3 separate regions of the Homo sapiens genome follow, and regions 1 and 3 are each linked to region 2. Evidence: promoter capture Hi-C in 16 types of primary human blood cells and fetal thymus (Javierre and others, 2016). All regions are on one chromosome and are shown on one strand. The core of a region is centred on a gene start or on the middle of the fragment in contact, and the rest is flanking DNA. Distances in the headings are between cores, read along the strand shown. Region 1 overlaps FAM13B (family with sequence similarity 13 member B). Region 2 holds the start of NME5 (NME/NM23 family member 5). Region 3 overlaps PKD2L2 (polycystin 2 like 2, transient receptor potential cation channel).

Region 1 (2,989 bases), core at 291-2,790, 150 kb before region 2:
TATATTTGATAGCTATTCTAGTTAGCCCTTTTAAAAACTGTCTTAAAAAAAAAACCACTCCCCAATTATCTTTTTTTTTCCTTTACCTTCCTATGAATCTTCTAGATTTGGGTACATTTTTCTCATCTTCCCCCCCCCAAAAAAAATTGATATATGAAAAACATGAAATCACTGCACCACGGTCTCTGAGGGAGGCACACAGGTATCCTGAAATACAGGACTGAAGTAATAGAAAACAAAGAGAGGCTTTCCTTCATTTAAAGGTAACAGGTCAGATGAAGAGTGGAGTAACATCATGCATTATAAGTACTTTTAACTAATACACATTTAAATACAGGTTGATTATTCCTTGTCGGAAAAGCTTCGGACCAGAAGTGTTTCAGATTTGTTTTGTTTGTTTTCAGATTTTGGAATATTTGCCAGTTAGCAACTGGCTCATAAATTATTTTAAAAGCCATTCATTTGCTTATGAAAATTTTCAGAGAGCATGACAAACAAGGTCCCTCACAACATCCCAAGGAGAGGTGCCAGACTGGCATCCCTAATCTGAAAATCCAAAATCTAAAATGCTCAAATGAGCATTTCTTCTGAGTATCATGTCAGTGCTCAAAGTTTTGGATTTGGGAGCACTTCAGATTTTGGATTTTTGGATTAGGGATGCTCAACCTGTATTAAGAGTTAATCTAACAAAAACATAAGCAGGGGAGAGGCTGGTGGGAAGGGATAACTATTTAAATAGCAAAGGATGATTCTGCCCACCATTTCACTCAATGATTATATGCACTATAGTGATATCAATCTGCTGCCCCTGTAACTGTCTGTCTAGATCACTCTGTTGCAGAGTCTAATTTTTTAAAGTTATTTTTCATACAACATAATTCCTAAAGGTAAGCTTGTTACTTCATTCGATGTTCAGGGGAAAAAAAACAACAAAAAACAAACAAACCTGTATTGGACTTAATAAAACATATATTATGAAAAAAGTGATGAGATATCCAGTGTTAAGTATGGATGTATATACAAGTATATATACAAAGTCACTTTTCACAAACAACTTTCAGAAATCTCCAAGAAAGATGAGATCCTGTTATTTAAGTAGCAATACAGTTTTAAGATAAAACAATTTTATAACATTTAATAAACAACAGTAAAATGTTTCTTACTGGTTATTAGATCCTTCCCCATCACAATGAATACTTTCTGCTTCATTATTACACACCACACTTTGCTGTTGTAAATTCTTAAGATCATGATCTATGCTGCTCTGAAGATCAAAAAGGTGCTGTTCCACAGCTGCTCTAATTGTTCTTTCTAAAATACTACAAAACAACACGTTTTAGTAAGAAGCAGTCACTCTAACTGGATATCTGGTGACACAGACATAAATGCTAAAACCTATGACCAGTAAAACTATTATGGTACTTAAATGGGTAAACCAAAGTGTAAAAAGAAATACATAAAAGGAATACATGATACTGGCTTAAGTTTTAAAAGTAAAATTTACCCAAACAGACAATCATATACAAATCAACCATAATGTCACTATTATTACTGGGATGGGAAAGATCAGTTGTCCCTATAATTCACTCCTCACTACACAGAAAACCACTAAATAAGGCTTTTCAAAGCTATACTTATAAAGCAAAATAACCTACTAACAGCAAAATGAAAGAAACCATGAGTACTGCTCACACTTCTTATGTAAAGTCTACTTTTTTAAAACTTATATTCTATGAACATTTTTCAATTATTTCAGAGGATTCAAAAAAACCATCTGAAGAAAGCTCATCTTTATTTTGTATAGTAATGCAATGGGTTTCTTCTTCATTTGTTCCTATCACAGTACATAAAAAACTAGTTTACTGCCTGTGTACAGTCTTTCCTCTAAAGTGAGCACAAGTACATTATTTTCATTTCTACAGCTTAGTAGTATTTTAAAATCTTAAAAATTTGTCTTCTATAAATATACTACTTACTCTGTAGAGGCTGGTAGGATGCTGATGGGAGATATATGGGTGCTGCAATCAAAGAAAGAAATTAGCTATAAAAATGTTCAATACTTAATAACTACAAAATGTGCTGAAATCTGCCATATTTGCACTACCTTGACACAACCAGGAGAGCACATACTAAGTGTTGTATTCTTGTTTACATATCAAGTTGGAAATATTTTCTGAATCTGGTTGGTAAAGCTTTCAAATATTAACCAAAGAAAATAAATTTGGAAAAACGTATCACTAACAAGACCAAAAATTTTAAAGTTAGAATTCATTATGAGCTAGGACCATTACATGCATTTATCTCTCATTTAATAACTTTCAATACCCAAGGAGTTACAATTATTTCCCCCTTTCCACAAAAGTGAAGCTCAAAGATGTTAATTAACTTGGCCAAATGCATATGGCCATGGGTTGGGTACCCCAAAGCCCCTGCTATTAACAAAGATGCTCTACTGCCTTCTACAACAAAAAAAAGTGACTAAAAACAAAAACACACACCACAGCATGAGCACCTCTCACAGATGATGAACCTAATTTTCTAAAGAAACTATTTTTCACACAAAAAGACCCCCAAATATATATACTTGTGGGGGTGAGAGTGGGACAACTACTTTCTCTGGTGCTCAGGTGGAGAAAAACTGATCTATTTCCAAAGCTGGAGGGAAAATTAGTTGTACTGGATTTAGGTGAACAGTAGTATTAGCCATTGATGAATACAGGTAATTTTTAAAAAATCATTTATCAGATAAAAGATAAGGTATGTTTAAATGGCACTGTGTGCCTAAGCACATCATCACAGCCAACACTTAGCCATAGGGAGGAGTGACCCTGCCTTCTTGACCTGAACACCACATCTGTAGCTACCTTGTCATTTTTTAAACGTAAATTAGTTTTATGAAGATCCTCCAAAATGTGGCAATACAATCTCTAACCAAAATGCAGAACAAACGCTATGAAGTTAGTATTGTCAGGATCCACTGCAGGAAACC
Region 2 (2,837 bases), core at 105-2,604:
CAATGCTATTTATATTCACTTTCAAACCCCTAGAATGACAATGTTTACTAATTGCAGAACATAAGGCTTAAAACATTAAATGTTATGCCATAACTGAAAAAAGTACCAATAGCCTAAAATTCCATCAATAGAAGATCAAGTAAATAAATTGTAGTTCTAATACACAGGGAAATATTACACAGAAATTAGGAAGAGTGAGATCAATTCAGATGCAATGATCTGGAATCCTATCTGAGGGACTCTGTAAAGGGGTCAAGGGAAAGGGACTGTTCTGTTTTATGGGGGGAAAATGTTTATAAATGCATAGAAAACTCCTGGAAGAACAGAAAGTGTTAAGTGGTTGCCTCTCTCTGGAGCCTGGGACTTGGGGTAAAAGAGGACAGGTGAAGGAAAAGTCCATTTTATTTCTCATTTTACATCCTTTTAAAAACTATCACATATAACTTTTATACTTAGAAGAATAAACTTAAATTTAATGCTGAACACTAAGGGTTTAAATGGGTAGGCACATTTACATAAGCATTTTTTTTTTAAGGGCAGAGAGGAAAAAAGCATGAATCATCATACCCAGAAGTTACCTGAACAATGGTGAATCCGGATCTAAGAATAATATCTTGTATCTCCTCCTCTTTGTCAACAATATCTGGTTTGATAATGGCCAGAGTTTTTTCTACATATATCTGAGGTGGAGGCATTGATATCTCCATTATGGCTTTTCAGGGCACAAATTAAGAGTTTCTTAACAGGTATCAACTGCAATGACATGCATTTCCCCCCACCCCCATCGCAAATTCAATGTAATTATGATTAAGAATAGCAATAGTAGGTACTTGATTTTATTAACTGATGAAGGTAGAAACTGCCATGTTTTTCTATATACAGGGTCTCAATAATAGGATTCCTACTATGTCCAAATCGAGCCCCGGCTTTTCGTATACGATGTCACCAAGGCAGGAAGGACTATGGGCTCACATAACCAGAGGCCAAGGGGCGACCCGAAGGCCTGGAACCAGCAACAGCCCCAGGCAGCAGAGGGCGGTGGGGCGGGTGGTGGGGGCTCGAGGGGGCGGTAGAGCGGGTGGTGGGGGCTCGAGGGGACGGTGGCTGGTGGGCAACCACACACCATTACAGCGGCGGGTGAGCGGCCTCGGCCAGCTGCCTCTGTGAAGCGACCCTGTCCCGCAGGGACCTCTCTGTGCATAGGGTCAGGCTAATTGAAAAGCAGGGCCTCTAGGTCCGCGGGGACTTTCCGGGTTGCACCTGCAAATTCTGAATTTGACCCTCTCTAAGTACTCACCTCAGCGGCCGTCCTCATATGGTACAACTTGTTGCTAGGAGACCTGAAGCCCCAGCGTGGGGACGGTGGCTGCAGAGAGCCAATCCCAGCAAGGAACCTTGCAGCTTCTGGCCAGTTCGTTTTAACCAAAGGGAGCCAGCCAGTCACTTTTATTCTCCTTGTGAATCTTAGAGCACTAGATGTTTTCTGACATTTTACTCATAATTTATCTTATTTCATCCTTCTTCCCGTTTGAAGGATGCTTCAATTATCCCTACTCTATAAATGATAAGAACCCCTCCCCCAACCATTCCTTTCCAGGCGGTATATGTAAATGACCCGTGTCAGATACCTTCGTTTCACCAGATGATGCTGTGCCCTCTATGCCCAGCTTATCTAGTCATTAAAAAGCAATATTCCTATTGTGTAAATACATTTATTTATAGAGTAAAAGGCTTAGAAAAGATCTAATGGAATTGTCTTTAAATCAAGCCGATGGAACAAAGATGTGGGCAACATTTATGGCATAAATCCAAACCTCAGCTTCCCCTTTTTTTCTTTATATTATGTCCACATGCATCTTTGACTCGTTGGTTGTGAGTTAAGGTATTATTCTTGTTGGAAAAGAAAATGAGGACATGGCAAAGAAGTACCAGGATCCTCTCTAGGTCAGAGTTCCGGGAGAGATTCAAACTCTAGAAAAAGTCAGGATAGCAGCTCCAGGTTAGAAAACAGGTTTTCCATCATCCACTGGGTTAGCTGGTTCTCCTTCCAGACTACTTGAGCCTTTTCTTTTGTCTAACCAGATATTCAGTACCTAAAGGGTTAAGGAACACATAGCAAGCTATTATGAACCTTAAACACTAAAGTATTGCAAGTTTATTTTTTTGGCAAATAGACTCAACTATACTTTTTTCTTTAAAGTATGATGCTACCCAGAAAAGAAACCCACAAATGTCTTCTAGCTACTATATCTTATCCCCTAAAGATGGGAAAGTGTGAACGTACATTAATAACAACAGATGAAGCAACCAAAAAATACACAGTGACTCCAGCCTCTTTGGAGTTTAGCCCTTGACTTGAGGCTCTGGAAGCGGGAATTCCCATTACTTGTCTATCCTCAGCTCTCTTGAGAGCTCTTCACTGCTGCCTGCATTCCTAGACTACTTCACTATCAGAGCTGGACTTACTGAGGCTCAGGGTTTTCCAAACCAGCAGGCACATTATCAATCCTTCAGGGCCTTAATCACCTTTAAAAATAAACTCTGAGAACACAGTCACCTCGAAATCACCTTTATTCTCATAGGCGTTCTGAAATCAAGATTCCAGAGGCTACAGGTATCTGCATACAGTACCTGAATCTGCTCCAGGACTTCTTGCCGCATCTCCACAGCCATATGGTATACATGATGATCAGAGTCATTGTACATTACAGCATTTTGGAACATCAGCATCAGGTCTCGCAGGAATTGGGCCATGGTGCGAATCCGACCCTTAGAGAGATTTCTCTTCAGGCTAGTTAAGTCCATGGGTCTGCAGGTGGCCAAGAAAAAACAAAGAA
Region 3 (2,856 bases), core at 131-2,630, 230 kb before region 2:
AGCAATTAATATTTTTCAACTTTATAATAATTAATGCTACCTTAAACTTGTATAAGTTGAGGGTAATTTCCATTTATGTAAAAGCATATGTCCTATCTTTCCTTCCCTCTTTGTTAAACTTTTGATGAACTTTTTTTGTGTTTCCTCATAGGCTGTAAGATATTTAGAGGTAGAGATATTCTCTAATTTAACCCTTCTTATTTTCCCATTTAGTTGTGTTTTGTGGCTGTTTCCTTCAACACATACTATAATGTACAAATTTTTCTCTTACTTGGACAGCTGTTGAAAAGTACTGAAAAATATTCAGATTTCTATTTTCTTGCATGCTGGCACATTTATTACAATAATATAATTGCTATTACCATCTTTTTTGCATGGATAAAGGTATTTATATTTCATTATATTACATAATACAAGCAGTGTAATAGCATAATGAAAAATTAAACTAAAAAGCCATGGGGAAAAAAGATTTTTTCAACTATTAAGTAATTTTAAAAGTAGTTTGGGCCAGCACAGTGGCTCATACCTGTACTCCTAGCACTTTGGAAGGCCAAGGCAGGTAGATTCTTGGCCCCAGGAGTTTGAGACCAGCCTGGGAAATCCTATCTCTACAAAAAATATCAAAAAAATATTAACTGGGTGTGGTGGTGCAAGCCTGTAGTTCCAGCTACTCTGGAGGCTGAGGTGGGAGGATCCCTTGAGCCCGTGAAGTGGAGGTTACAGTGAGCTGTAATCCCCCACTGCACTCCAGCCTGGATGACAGAAAAAAAAGAAGTTGGCCAGGCACGGTGGCTCACGCCTGTAATCCCAGCATTTTGGGAGGCTGAGGTGGGCGGATCACCTGAGCTCAGGAGATTGAGACCAGCCTGGCCAACATGGTGAAATCCTGTCTCTACTAAAAATACAAAAAATACTAGCTGGGCATGGTGGCACGTGCCTGTAATCCCAGCTACTAGGGAGGCTGAGGCAGGAGAATCACTTGAACCTAGGGGGCAGAGGTTGCAGTGAGCCGAGATCATGCCACAGCACTCCAGTCTGGGTGACAGAGTGAGACTCCATCTCAAAAAAAAAAAACAGAAGTTTGGCCTTGTAATGATTGCTGGGAAATCCTCAAACACCCATGATTATCATTAAATATCTCCTTTAATTCGAAGCAGAATTCTTCTGAAATTAATTTATTCTAAGTAATTTCATCTTTGATATTCTCCTATTTCAATTAACTTTGTTCTTTTTCAGATATTCAAATTCATAAGCTTTAACAAGACAATGTCTCAGCTGTCATCAACCTTGTCCCGTTGTGTTAAAGACATAGTAGGATTTGCCATCATGTTTTTTATAATATTCTTTGCTTATGCCCAGTTAGGATTTCTTGTTTTTGGATCACAAGTTGATGACTTTTCCACTTTTCAGAATTCCATGTAAGCTCTTAGTATAAATGTAATTATATCTTCTATATTTTCTTACAAAAAAAATTGGAAAGGTCTAACCTTCTATGATAAGTAGTAATATAAGCTTTAATATATTTAAACTTAGTTTGATATTTTCTTTTTCTTTTTATTTTTCTGGAGACAGGGTCTCATAGCTCACTGAAGCCTCAAACTTCTGGACTCAAGCTATCCTCAGCCTCCCAAGTAGCTAGGACTACAGGTGTGCACCACCACGCTTGGTTGATTACATTTTTATTATTTTTTGGTCTCACCATGTTGGCCAGGGTGGTTTTAAACTTCTGGGTTCAAGTGAACCTCCTGCCTCGGCCTCCCAAAATGCTGGGATTACAGGCATGAGCCACCAGCCTGGCTGATATTTTCACTGATGGCTAAATATCTGTCACATTCAAATTAGGATTTGACATTGAAGGAGCCAAATGGGTGACGGTGTCCATTTTTAAGGTGTTAATAGGTCAAGTTAGAAAAATAATTTTTCATTTTTCATTGGAAGTGATAATTTTACCTAAGATAATAGAAATTGTCCCCCATGTCTCTGTGGTGTTTATTCTCTGGACAAAAGAAATTTTTTTTTTTTTTTTTTTTTTTGAGACAGGGTCTCCACTCTGTCACCCAGGCTGGACTACACTGGCGTTATCACAGCTCATTGCATCCTAAAACTCCTGGGCTCAAGCAGTCCTCCCACCTCAGCCTCCCAAGTAGCTGGGTGTGCCACCACATCCAGCCAATTTTTGTATTTTTTGTAGAGATAAGGTTTAGCCATGTTGCCCAGGCTGGTCTTGAACTCCTGAGTTCAAGTGATCCTCCTGCCTCGGCCTTTCAAAAGTGCTGGGATTACAGATGTGAGCCACCACACCCAGCCAAAAGAAATCTTAAGTGTTTTCTTTAGAGGGCTCCATCTTAATATTTTTATTGATATTGACCTGATCGTCCTTTGCTAATCTGCCAAACATGTATTTTTAAAATAGCTTTAGGCTGGGTGCCATGGCACCTATAATCCCAGCATTAGGGAGGCCAAGATGGGAGAATCACTGAGGCCAGGAGTTCAAGACCAACCTGGGCAACATAGCAAGACTGCGTTTCTACAAAAAAACAAAAAACAACTAGCTGGATGTGGTGGCATATGCTTGTATTCCTAACTACTCAGGACACTGAGGCAGGAGGATCACTTGAGCCTGGGAGTTTGAGGTTACAGTGAGCTATGATCACACCACTGCACTCCAGCATGGGCAACAGAGTGAAACCCCATCTCTAAAACAATAATAATAATAATAATAATAATAATAATAATAATAATAATAAAACTTGGTAATAATTGGCATTGAATACAGATGTAATAATTTACAGAGCCTAGGAAATTTGTCTTACCGTGGGTAGTGAAGAGGAAAGGGAAGTATAAAGCACAGAACAG

What was found. The method cuts DNA at HindIII sites, captures the fragments that hold promoters and counts their contacts. A CHiCAGO score of 5 or more calls a contact.
Region 1: a contact is called between a fragment that was not itself captured here and the fragment with the promoter of NME5 in region 2, in 1 of 17 cell types (naive B cells). The highest score is 5.1, in naive B cells.
Region 3: a contact is called between a fragment that was not itself captured here and the fragment with the promoter of NME5 in region 2, in 1 of 17 cell types (M1 macrophages). The highest score is 5.2, in M1 macrophages.

What each region holds. Positions count from the first base shown.
Region 1 is chr5:137,986,298-137,989,286 of GRCh38, forward strand. FAM13B (family with sequence similarity 13 member B) reads right to left here. Exons shown (of 24, transcript NM_001385994.1): 8 at 1,977-2,018; 9 at 1,164-1,319. Among named protein-coding and RNA genes, the nearest start is that of FAM13B-AS1, 45 kb to the right of the region's middle. The HindIII fragment of the contact is 1,300 bases long and covers 891-2,190 here.
Region 2 is chr5:138,138,074-138,140,910 of GRCh38, forward strand. NME5 (NME/NM23 family member 5) reads right to left here and starts at 1,355. Exons shown (of 6, transcript NM_003551.3): 1 at 1,298-1,355; 2 at 579-712. The coding sequence starts at 707. BRD8 (bromodomain containing 8) reads right to left here. Exons shown (of 27, transcript NM_139199.2): 26 at 2,632-2,809; 27 at 1,697-2,093. The coding sequence ends at 2,001. The HindIII fragment of the contact is 15,003 bases long and covers 1-2,837 here.
Region 3 is chr5:137,907,529-137,910,384 of GRCh38, forward strand. It overlaps PKD2L2 (polycystin 2 like 2, transient receptor potential cation channel), which reads left to right. Exons shown (of 15, transcript NM_001300921.2): 7 at 214-384; 8 at 1,237-1,418. Among named protein-coding and RNA genes, the nearest start is that of PKD2L2, 20 kb to the left of the region's middle. The HindIII fragment of the contact is 259 bases long and covers 1,252-1,510 here.